4 separate regions of the Homo sapiens genome follow, and all the other regions are linked to region 4. Evidence: promoter capture Hi-C in 16 types of primary human blood cells and fetal thymus (Javierre and others, 2016). All regions are on one chromosome and are shown on one strand. The core of a region is centred on a gene start or on the middle of the fragment in contact, and the rest is flanking DNA. Distances in the headings are between cores, read along the strand shown. Region 1 holds the start of ADAMTSL4-AS1 (ADAMTSL4 antisense RNA 1). Region 2 holds the start of FALEC (focally amplified lncRNA regulator of ECM1). Region 3 overlaps OTUD7B (OTU deubiquitinase 7B). Region 4 holds the start of CA14 (carbonic anhydrase 14).

What was found. Contacts are between HindIII fragments. The CHiCAGO score rates a contact against its expected background, and 5 or more counts as called.
Region 1: a contact is called between a fragment that was not itself captured here and the fragment with the promoter of CA14 in region 4, in 1 of 17 cell types (M1 macrophages). The highest score is 5.5, in M1 macrophages.
Region 2: a fragment that was not itself captured here is called in contact with the fragment with the promoter of CA14 in region 4 in 9 of 17 cell types (endothelial precursors, M1 macrophages, megakaryocytes and 6 more); the score reaches 13.4 in endothelial precursors.
Region 3: a contact is called between a fragment that was not itself captured here and the fragment with the promoter of CA14 in region 4, in 6 of 17 cell types (neutrophils, M1 macrophages, naive B cells and 3 more). The highest score is 9.2, in neutrophils.

What each region holds. Positions count from the first base shown.
Region 1 is chr1:150,572,905-150,575,604 of GRCh38, forward strand. It overlaps MCL1 (MCL1 apoptosis regulator, BCL2 family member), which reads right to left. Exons shown (of 3, transcript NM_021960.5): 3 at 1,654-2,700. It overlaps ADAMTSL4-AS1 (ADAMTSL4 antisense RNA 1), which reads right to left and starts at 1,648. Exons shown (of 4, transcript NR_104133.1): 1 at 1,220-1,648; 2 at 755-917. The HindIII fragment of the contact is 2,255 bases long and covers 198-2,452 here.
Region 2 is chr1:150,514,009-150,516,708 of GRCh38, forward strand. FALEC (focally amplified lncRNA regulator of ECM1) reads left to right here and starts at 1,744. Exons shown (of 6, transcript NR_186305.1): 1 at 1,744-2,054. RefSeq lists enhancers at 1,189-1,258, 1,329-1,478 and a silencer at 1,569-1,938. The HindIII fragment of the contact is 2,789 bases long and covers 1-2,700 here.
Region 3 is chr1:149,959,700-149,962,399 of GRCh38, forward strand. It overlaps OTUD7B (OTU deubiquitinase 7B), which reads right to left. Exons shown (of 12, transcript NM_020205.4): 7 at 1-97. Among named protein-coding and RNA genes, the nearest start is that of MTMR11, 24 kb to the left of the region's middle. The HindIII fragment of the contact is 2,620 bases long and covers 39-2,658 here.
Region 4 is chr1:150,256,492-150,259,191 of GRCh38, forward strand. It overlaps CA14 (carbonic anhydrase 14), which reads left to right and starts at 1,283. Exons shown (of 11, transcript NM_012113.3): 1 at 1,283-1,692. The coding sequence starts at 1,638. RefSeq lists an enhancer at 1-167. The HindIII fragment of the contact is 8,593 bases long and covers 1-2,700 here.

The DNA of each region.
Region 1 (2,700 bases), core at 75-2,574, 320 kb after region 4:
ATTTTAATTTTGTAAAAAAAAAAAAAAAAATCCTTCGGCTGTCACAACTGTTTTAAATAAAAATTTTGTGAAAAAACAGTATGAAGACGTTGCTCTAGATACAGAACAGGAACTGAGAAAGTCTGGTTGTGTCAAATAAAGCAAAGTGTTGATAATTCTGACTACTGATTAAGGTTACCCAGTTACTATTAAATCCAAGCTTTTAAGGTGCTGAGCAAAGGAACACTGTACCAGAAACGGCTTCACATCATAGCACGTCAATGGGAGCAATAGCACTAACTTAACTCAGGCCAAGACTTGGGCTTGGGTCCTCTGTGGCTGCTACTCTCCTACCACACCTTTGCTTGGGAGTGCACTTACACAGCTTTCTTTGTAATGATACAAAAAGTTGCTGCCTTTTGGTAGTTAGGCTCCAGAAAGGGGCTTCCAAACCAAAATGCACTTTTAAATAGAAATGCAACTGACTGCAGGGAGGCACAGAATCCTGATTGCCTGATTAGCATATGGTGCTCAGGGCTTAAAACCAAGTATGCAAACCTCACATTTGCACATTTCCATGGTGATTCAGCTCACTTTCAAGGTAGCTGAAAATAAAAGCAGGATAGGGGTTTTTGAAATTGACTGGCTTCTTTTTACCTCCTTTTGGAAAGCAGAAGGGGAAAAGCACTGCTGCCAAGAACTTCATCAAAACTCTTTAACTTTAGGTATTATTTAGGTGTTATGATAGAGTAACTGCTGTACAGTACCCTCTTACCTCAAGATCAAGGCTGGGCGCAGTGGCTCAGGTCTGTAATCGCAGCACTTCGGCTGAGGCGAGTGGATCACTGAGGTCAGGACTTCAAGACCAGCCTGACCAACACGGCAAAACCCCGTCTCTACCAAAAATAGAAAAATTAGCCGGGCATGGTGGCGGGCACCTGTAATCCCAGCTACTCGGGAGGCTGAGGTTGCAGTGAGCCGAGATTGCCCCACTGCACTCTAGCCTGGGCAAAAGAGTGAGACTGTGCCTCAAAACAAAACAAAACAAAACATACCAACACCTGGTGATTCAAAAAAATCAAGACAGAGGCTGGGTGCGATGGCTCACGCCTGTAATCCTGGCACTCTGGGAGGCAGAGGTGGGCAGATCACCTGAGGTCGGGAGTTCAAGACCAGCCTGACCAACACGGAGAAACCCCATCTCTACTAAAAATACAAAATTATCTGGGTGTGGTGGCGCATGCCTGTATTCCCAGCTACTCAGGAGGCTGAGGCAGGAGAATCATTTGAACCTGGGAGGCGGAGGTTGCGGTGAGCGGAGATCGTGCCATTGCACTCCAGCCTGGACAACAAGAGCAAAACTCCATCTCAAAAAAAAAATAATAAATAAATAAATCAAGACAGAAATTTTGATTTTAAAGAGGTTTTTGATTTTACTTGGAGGTTTAAGAACTCCTCTAAGTACAGCAGTAATATATTTAATTAAAAACCCAACACCTCTAATTAGAATTGAAGAAAGGAACTGTCCTTTGCTCTAAGGCAAATCAACTTTGTGAGGCTTTTGCTTTGAATTCACCTGTACATATTTGCTCAGCTGACTTCTCTAAAAGGTTTGCCTAAGAGAGGGAAGGAAAAAGAGGCGTCGATGAGAAAAGACCCATATCACACCCTGTATTTGAATAAAAGATTTATTTTTTTTTCTCAGGAAAAACAGAAAGTTAGGGAAACACACTACATTTGACAACCAACATTAATTTGTAGTTGGTCCTAACCCTTCCTGGCACAGCTATCAAAAGTACAGCTGTTTAACCAGAACCAAGGTGTTCACCCCCCACAGAATGTACATGAAACACTAGAGGACTGCATGTTTTTCCCTGAGAGAAGCGTAAGACAAACAGAAGTCAAAAAGTAGTCACTGGGAGCGCCATCCTTCTAAGCAAATCCTCCCTTTCCCTTTTGGAGGATTTGCCCGAACTACGTAGCCAGTCAGCACTTAGACCACCTGCCTCCTCCTCCCCCTATAAACCCACCACTCCCCTCCTCCTTTCCCAAACCACTTGGGGTGTCCTAAGCCCTCACTGCCCCAAGCCCAAAATATCAACTAAGATCCTTGTCTGTATTTCCACAGTCATACCTAATGAATTGGGAAGTGGGGCCCCTAAAAACCAATTCACATCTATGCACTTGTTTCCACTGGATTTGGCAGACAGGCTTTTTTAGTTACCGTAACCAGATCTTAAGATTAATTAAAAACTACATAAAGTGCTTTTAGGTCCTTAGAGATACATGATATAAATAAGCGGCTTATGATCAAGAACGATAAATACATAGGTAAAAATAGCTCTAGCAAAGATGACCTTATGGCTCTGAGATGGGCAGGCAGGGCAGTTCTTCCCCATTACATTCTTAGTCATCTTATTCATACCTATTTTTAAATGGAGTCCACAGACTAAAGGTCATGTTCCGAGACTGAAGCTTTCAAATGACCCTAGTTCCAATATAGACACTTTCTTCAGTTTATCAGTAGCTTTTAAACTCTGAGGTTTAACACAGCTCACCTCTTTCTGTAAATTTAAGTGAGCATACTCCTATACAAAGGAAACTTTAGAGAAAGCCTCATAAAATGTTCTTTCCTCTGAAAATTCCTGAGGGGACTTTTGACACATTGCCCCCAAAGACAGGATAAAACAATAGTTGAAAAGATACCAGTCCAAGGAAAAG
Region 2 (2,700 bases), core at 61-2,560, 260 kb after region 4:
TCGCCCAGGCTGAAGTGCAGTGGCACGATCTTGGCTCACTGCAACTTGCAACCCTCCTGGGTTCAAGCGATTCTCCTGCCTCAGCCTCCCGAGTAGCTGGGATTACAGGCGTGCACCAGCACACCCAGCTAATTTTTGTATTTTTAGTAGAGACGGGTTTTCACCATGTTGGCCAGGCTCCCAAAGTGCTGGGATTACAGGCGTGAGCCACTGTGCCTGGCCAATATCCATTTATTGAACCCCTATCTATGCACACTCTGCTAGACTTGGGGATACACATCCAGAACACACACAGCCCCTGCCCTGAGGTTGTTCACTGTCCCTGAGCCTAGCAGGTGTGACAAGTGTTGTGGTACAGGGCCCCCAGCGTGCTCTGAGCATGACAGGAACGTCCCGAGGTGGGAGTGGGGCTGGGGGCAGCACAGGTGCACAGGAGGGGCGTTGAGGTCAGAGTTTCTCCAGTAAAGAAGTAGAGGGTGTGAGCGGGCAGAGTGCGCACAAGGGTCAAGGCTGAAAGGACCTGACTCTTTGGTGGCCTTCCTCTCTGATATGGCTGGAATGATAAGCAGGAGCTCATCACTAATGCCTCACCCGCAGGGTTTTAAGTGGATCTTGGTGCCCTGGCCCAGGGGGCACTGGCGTTTTCAAGCGGAGGATGTGTTCCAATTTGCCTTTTAAGAATGTCTAGGCCGGACGCACTGGCTCACGCTGTAATCCCAGCATTTTGGAAGGCCGAGGCGGGCGGATCACTTGAGGTTAGGAGTTCGAGATCAGCCCGACCAACATGGTGAAACCCCATCTTTACTGAATTAGCCAGGCGTGGTGGTGCCCACCTATAATCCAAACTACTCGGGAGGCTGAGGCACGAGAATCACTTGAACCTGGGAGGTGGAGGTTGCAGTGAGCCAGTATCGCACCACTGCACTCAGCCTGGCCGACACAGCGAGACTGTGCCTCAAAAATAAAATAAAATAAAATAATGTCTAGTCGGAGAGCCGGGGAGGTGGCGCGCGCCTGTAATCCCAGCCACCCAAAGAGCTATGGTCTCGGCACTGCACTTCAACCTGCGAGACCCAGTCTCAAAAAGAAAAAAAAAAGTTTAGTCGGCAGCCAGCAAGGCGGGACGCTGGGAGGCCAGTTCAAAGAGTGTCGTCCCAAGTGCCGGAGGGACGGAGCTGTAGCCCCCAACCTGAGCTGGACCCGAGGGTGGCGGTGACTAGGACTCTCAAGCCCTACAAAGCTGCTCCCAGGAACCCGAGGCCTCAAGGCTGGATCTGAAAGAATCGGAATGAAGACTCGGAATGAAGAGTCCCAGGGGAACAAGTCCTGTGTGACTCCGCCGCCAGGACGACCTTCCAGAAAGCAGACTTCTCCGCTCCAGTTCTAGCGGAGACGGAGAGAGTGAACCAAGAACCATCATCCTGCGCCAGCCAGGGGCAAGCGGAGCCTCAGTTGCTCCCAAACCCACGCCCGCCTCTCCTTCCTCTCCTCCTCCACAGGCTTTCATTTATTTACTTAAGTATTTTTAGCCCAGTAGCAGTTTCCAGTCCAGCGGCTCCTCAGATCTTTCGCCGGCTGTCCGCCCCACCTGTCCGTCAGCACGCGAGCCAATGAGCGGGCGAGGGCAGCGCTGTGCCCCGCCCCTGAGCCGGCAGCCCAGTCTCGGGAGCCCGGGGCCGCCTGGGCCTCCTGCCCGCCGCGCTCGAGTCTGGAGCTCGAGAGTGACACTGCGCATGTGCGGGCGTCCTGCGCATCTCCTACGGCCTCCAGGACAGAGGAACCGGGGGAGGCAGGGGGAAAAGGCCGGCCCAGCAATTCCCCTACCCCCCGGTCCCACGTGTACCCTCCTGGCCTGGGTCGCCCCAGCCCACGGGGAGCGGGCGGAGTCCTGGCCCACGAAGCCTTGTCACCTGGCGGGCGAATCCGCAAGCGGAGACTTGTCTTTAAAGGGCTTTGGGCCGGGCGCGGTGGCTCATGCCTGGAATCCCAGCACTTTGGGAGGCCGAGGCGGTGGATCACGAGGTCAGGAGTTCAAGACCAGCCTGGCCAAGAAGGTGAAACCCCGTCTGTACTAAAAATACAAAAAAAAAAAAAAATTAGCAGGGCGTGGTGGCGGGCGCCTATAATCCCAGCTACTCGGGAGGCTGAGGCAGAGAATTGCTTGAACCCGGGAGGCGGAGGCTGCAGTAAGATCGCGCCACCGCACTCCAGCCTGGGCGAGAGAGGAGACTCTGTCTCAAAAAAAAAAAGGGAGCGGGGGGGCTTTGGTCTGTGCAGGAGCTTCCCGGAGATGCTTTAGAGCTGCGTTTGCAAAGTGCAGCGCCAAATGCTGCAGAGAGGTGGGAGTCAGAGGAGAGGAGGACTGCGGTCCCAAACCCTAGCAGTTTAGTCTGTCGGGGAGGAGAGGAAGGGAACCCGGAGAGCACTTGTAAGCTACAGTGCTGAATATGAGGAGGTACTGAATTGAGCATCAAATGCTGAGAGTTAAAGAATTCTCCCTAGGGACCAGCCAGCTATTATCTGGAAGCAGTGAGTTTGGATAGAGCCTGGAAGCACGGGTAGCATTGCTGTTAGCAATAAAAGGTGAACGTGTTAACATTCACTGCAATTCGTTGTATACACTATTAAAATATAACTTGCTCAATTCAGGGGCGGTGAGTAAAGTAAAGGAGTCAGAGCTCCTAATTATTGGAGAGGCCA
Region 3 (2,700 bases), core at 99-2,598, 300 kb before region 4:
CATTGGTACCTAGATGCATTCGGGGTTCACTTGAGGCAAGCTTGATCAGTTCATTCCACTCCTTCTGCCATTCATCTTCTGTGTATACCAGCCCTGACTGTGTGAAGGACAGGCAGGGGACATTGGGCAATTAGAGGCTGGGTTCTAAGAGGCAATACCTATTCCACCTTATTCACTGTTACTTACTCCCTAATCCCTTAGCACTTGGTTTACAAATTGTACTACAAAGTCAAATCTCTTATCTCTTTTACAGTCAAGATCCATGAACTAATAGTCTATGACTATTAAACTTCTTTATCATCCATTCTTTTTGACCTACTGCAATCTGTCCCATTTCTGCCCTCCATCCTGCTCACCCACCTGCCACATAACATTTCACCTACCTGATTTTGGCAAAGAACAATGACCTTCTAATTGCCACATTCAGTGGACCCTGGTTCCCATCTTAGCCTTCACATGGGTTATTTTCCTCTTTAAATTTTCTTTGCCATTAGCGTCCATAAAATTACTTTCTATTCCTCTAAATTCTGTCTGCCCCCAAAATACTAGTGGTGTGTCAATGATTTTCACCTTGGTTCCCTCTGGGTGATCTCTTCTACTGCCATAATCTCATCCACTACCATCTGTATGGTATATACCATCTATCTCCAGCCCAGATTTCTTAATTTCTTTTCTTTTTCTTTTCTTTCCTTTTTTTCTTTTTTTTTTTTTTGTAGACAGAGTCACCCAGGCTGGAGTGCAATGGCACAATCTCGGCTCACTGCAAACTTCACCTCCCGGGTTCAAATGCTTCTCCTGCCTCAGCCTCTCGAGTAGCTGGGATTACAGCACCCACCACCAGGCCCAGCTAATTTTTGTATTTTTAGTAGAGACGGGCTTTCCCCATGTTGGCCAGGCTGGTCTCGAACTCCTGACCTGGTGATCTGCCTGTCTCAGCCACCCAAAATGCTGGGATTACAGGCATGAGGCACTGCACTCAGCCTAGACTTCTTAATTTCTATATTCATATATCCAGCTACCTACTGGAGACTGCCACCTGCCCATGGCTACCTCAAACTCTGTAAAGTCAAAATAGAACTCCTGTTTTTTCCCAAACCCACTCTTCTTCCTATTTTCCTACCTTAGTGAATAGCACCAACTATCACCCAAACATCCAAGCTCAAAACCAAGGAATTATCTAATATTCCTTTCTTTCTTTCACCCACCCCACACCTGGATACCTTCTTTTTTTTTTTTTTTTTTTTTGAGACAGAGTCTCACTCTGTCGCCCAGGCTGGAGTACAGTGGAACGATCTCAGCTCACTGCAACCTCCACCTCCCGGGTTCAAGCAATTCTCCTGCCTCAGCCTCCCAAGTAGAAGTGCTGCATACAAAGCCTACTTTCTGGCCCCTACCCACTTCTCTAGTCAGATATATCTCACTGAATCAGCTGTAGTTCCTGAAATATACCATGTTGTTTTATACCACTGAGCTTTTGTCTAAGCTGTTCCTTCTGCCTGGAGTAGCTCACTTTCTGTCAACCTTGTGAACAATTTCTCAACTTTTAGGACAGAACTCAGGTATCATTCCTCCAAATAGTCTTCTAAATCTCCCTTGGCAGATCAACCACTCCTTCCTTTGTATCCTCTCTCCCTAACTGCTATAGAGTTGTTGTTGTTTTTTTGTTTGTTTGTTTGAGACAAAGTCTTGCTCTGTCACCCAGGATGGAGTGTGGTGGCATGATCTTGGCTCACTGCAACCTCCACCTCCCAGGTTCAAGCAATTCTCCTGCCTCAGCCTCCGGAGTAGCTGGGACTACACGTGCACACCACCATGCCTGGCTAGTTTTGTATTTTTAGTAAAGACGGGGTTTCACCATGTTGGCCAGGCTGGTCTCGAACTACCAACAGGTGATCCGCCTGCCTTGGCCTTCCAAAGTGCTGGGATTACAGGCATGAGCCACCGCATCCGGCCAGCATTAACTGCTATAGAGACGTCTATTGTAAGAGTCATACATGTTATAACCTGTTGCAATTATGTATTTACATGTCCATCTCCTCCTCTATGCTAGGATCATGTTTTATGCAATACACCCAAGGTCTATTTTGTGACTATAATCAATAAACATATGCTAAGTGAAACTACAATTTTTATCAAAGGAGAGCAGGCAATGGTACAAGCAATTTTAAAATACATTGGCTTTAGGATGTATATAATGATAAGGGAAATAAGTTTAACTTATTAATTTTATTTGGCTGACATTAGTATTAAAATGAGTCTATACGGCTTAACCGCACACTGACAGAGTAGAAGGAAATCACTGGAAACATGAGGGGTACTGGGAACAAATTTAATGGGAATTTTTTAAATGACACAGCTATTTTCAATTTGTAAAATGCTATCACAAATTTTACTTCAATTAAAAATAAAGAGAGCAATGCCCAGGTTCTATATGGAGTGCTGCAGTCACTCCAATAGACACATCCAGATCCGGCTCCCTCTTCCTGGCCGGTTTCTGCTTCCTGTTTTAATGTACACAGCCACTAGGTGGTGTACAACTTCTAGCCTTAACATTTAAGAAACTATTACTGAGCCTCACCACCAATTTCAACATAAAACAAGGAAGCCCAGGAAATCAAAACTTATTTAGTGTGGTTTTGGTACTGGGGAGCTAAAGGAAGCTTCCCCAGTTCATTATCCTCCTCCTACCATTCCCACTCC
Region 4 (2,700 bases), core at 33-2,532:
TGCATTATTCTGTTCATTTGGCTTTTATCCTGCTCCCTTATTTAGCTTCTGCTCCCTTTGTTTGGCTATTTATTGCTACTCGGCAGGAGCAAGGAGGGCAGAGGGAGCTTCAGATGGGTGCATCCTCCTGGCTGGTGCCTCTGGTGAAGAGCATGGAGGAGAAAGAGGTTTCAATGTCTGGCTTGAAAGTATCTGTGGGTTTCACATTCTCTAACGAGGGATTTAGGATGTACATTCCAATCGGGATTTCCAGTCCCGTGGGGAGCAAACATCAGTTCACATTCCTGAGACGTGCAGCCTCCATGCTCCACGGACGCAGCTCCTTGGTGGCAGGTTTCATTCAGTGCCACATGTCCTGCCTCAGCCCTTTGTTGGGCTGGAAGGAAGACCCTGAGCCCCTCTTCCATCTGGATCACATGGTCTCTCCAGACCCTCCCCTCTCTTTCTCTGGAAACCACCTTTTTCTGATGGTGGTAGTGATTGTTCCTAAAGTCTCTCCTTTCCTCCTGCCCTGGCCTCTCTGCCGGAGGTCAGTGTCCTCTTCAGTGACAAAAGCCGCCCTAGATCTGGGCTCCCTGGAGAGGGAGGTGGCTGGGTCTGGCAGTTACAGCCGCTGTCTCTCCATGGTGCTGCTACACCCCTCCCCCACTGGGCATACAAATGGGCTTTATCCAGCAAACAACGCTCCCTCCCCGCACTCCCCCCACCCCAGGCCACACAGGCACGTGGACCCAGGCCTCACCGTGGGAAGGGGGTGGTGGCAGGCACAGAAGAGATTGCTCCAGATGAGTTCTCCTTGCCTCACTTCTCTTCCTTAGAACTTAGGACACAACTCAGGTTTTAGTTATTGACTTCCTCCACCCCTCCCCTGCACCCTGAGTCCCTAATTCCTTCTTGTTATATATCTCCTAATTCTGGACTCTTCCCATTCCAGGGCAGCTCAGATTATGCAGGGAATTGGGAACAGGTACCCCCACCATCTGCCGCATACCACCCAGGGAGCTGCTCCTCAGAGGAGAAATCAGGCGGGGGGATGAAAATACAGTGTCCTTTTGAGGGGGCTGAGTTGAACCCCAAAGCCCCTTCCTTGACCCTGCCTGCTCCAGGGAACACCCATCTAAACAGCATCTGTGTGACTAGCAGAGGAAGGAAGAGCTCACCCCAGCTGGGCTCCTGAGCCAGGGCCAGGGCTCCAGTGAAACTTGCCGCGCTCCAGCTCCGAGTGGGGCCATCCTGCATGCCTAATTGGCTATTTAAGGAGCTGTTCACCAGCAGCCCAGGCAGCACCCCCGTCCCCACATACACCAGTTCAGAGCCACCTTAAAAGCAGGAGGCAGTTGTAAAGTCGCTGGCCAGCTAGTGGAGTGGAGACTGCAGAGGGAGATAAAGAGAGAGGGCAAAGAGGCAGCAAGAGATTTGTCCTGGGGATCCAGAAACCCATGATACCCTACTGAACACCGAATCCCCTGGAAGCCCACAGAGACAGAGACAGCAAGAGAAGCAGAGATAAATACACTCACGCCAGGAGCTCGCTCGCTCTCTCTCTCTCTCTCTCACTCCTCCCTCCCTCTCTCTCTGCCTGTCCTAGTCCTCTAGTCCTCAAATTCCCAGTCCCCTGCACCCCTTCCTGGGACACTATGTTGTTCTCCGCCCTCCTGCTGGAGGTGATTTGGATCCTGGCTGCAGATGGGGGTAGGTACAACTAAATGTCTGTGTGTGGATTTGTGCTGATGTTCACATGTCGCCAGGTGTGCTTAATGGGGGGAGGAGAGGTGTGAAAGGAAGCCTAGAGGCTGGAATAATAGGCTCAGAGATGAGGAAAAAAGAGTGGGGTGTGGAGGAGACCACTTCCCTTCTTTACCTTTTGTCTCTCCAGCCTTGTTGTTATTGGAGGTCGGGGAGAACTAGCGGCAGGCAGGCAGAGTGTGTACACATGCAAGTGCTGGAATCTCTTTGCAGGCTACAGATTTTCTCCAGAGCTCTTTCCCCCACTGCCCTGGTCCCAGGCAGGACTCCTGGACTTCTTTATTTACAAACTCCTCCAAATAGGGAGTCAAAGAGGCCTGGAGTAAAAAGATGGATAGATGGGGGTAGGGGGAAGAATACTTCCTGCCCAACTCAGACCCTGATCTCCAATTCATCCCCTTTTGGCCAAGATTCCCTCTTCATTCTGTGGAGCGACTAACTCCCCAGTTATCCTCTGAAAGTGGCAGTAAGAGTCAACATTTGTTTGACATTTTACAGTTTACAAAGGACTTTCAGGAGCTCCCAGGAGATGAGGAGGGATTCTTGGGAGAACAGGCTGAAGCGCTCCAGGAGTGTCCCCAGGAACTCCTAGACCTCATTTTTGTGTTTCCTGTGCCTAGCACAGTGTCCAGCACATACTAGGTGTGTAACTGAGGTTTGTGGAAAGAGCAGGGTGAGGTGGGTGTCCAGAGAGCAGAAGGCAAATGCAGAGAGGATGGGGGCAGGCAGGCAGCCAAATGGAGAGTCACAAATCTCATCTGAGGAGAAAGAAAAAAAGAGGGAAAGAGGAGGAAGAGACAGAATAAGTGTGTTGAGGCTCTGACCAGAGTGGACAGGCACCTTTACAGACCAGGGAGTTTGAGTTGTTGGGGGGTCCCACAGATATGGTAAAATGAGAGGCTGCCTCCAGCTCTCCCTTGGGCTAGCAGAATAGGTCAAGGATAAGAGCAGGAC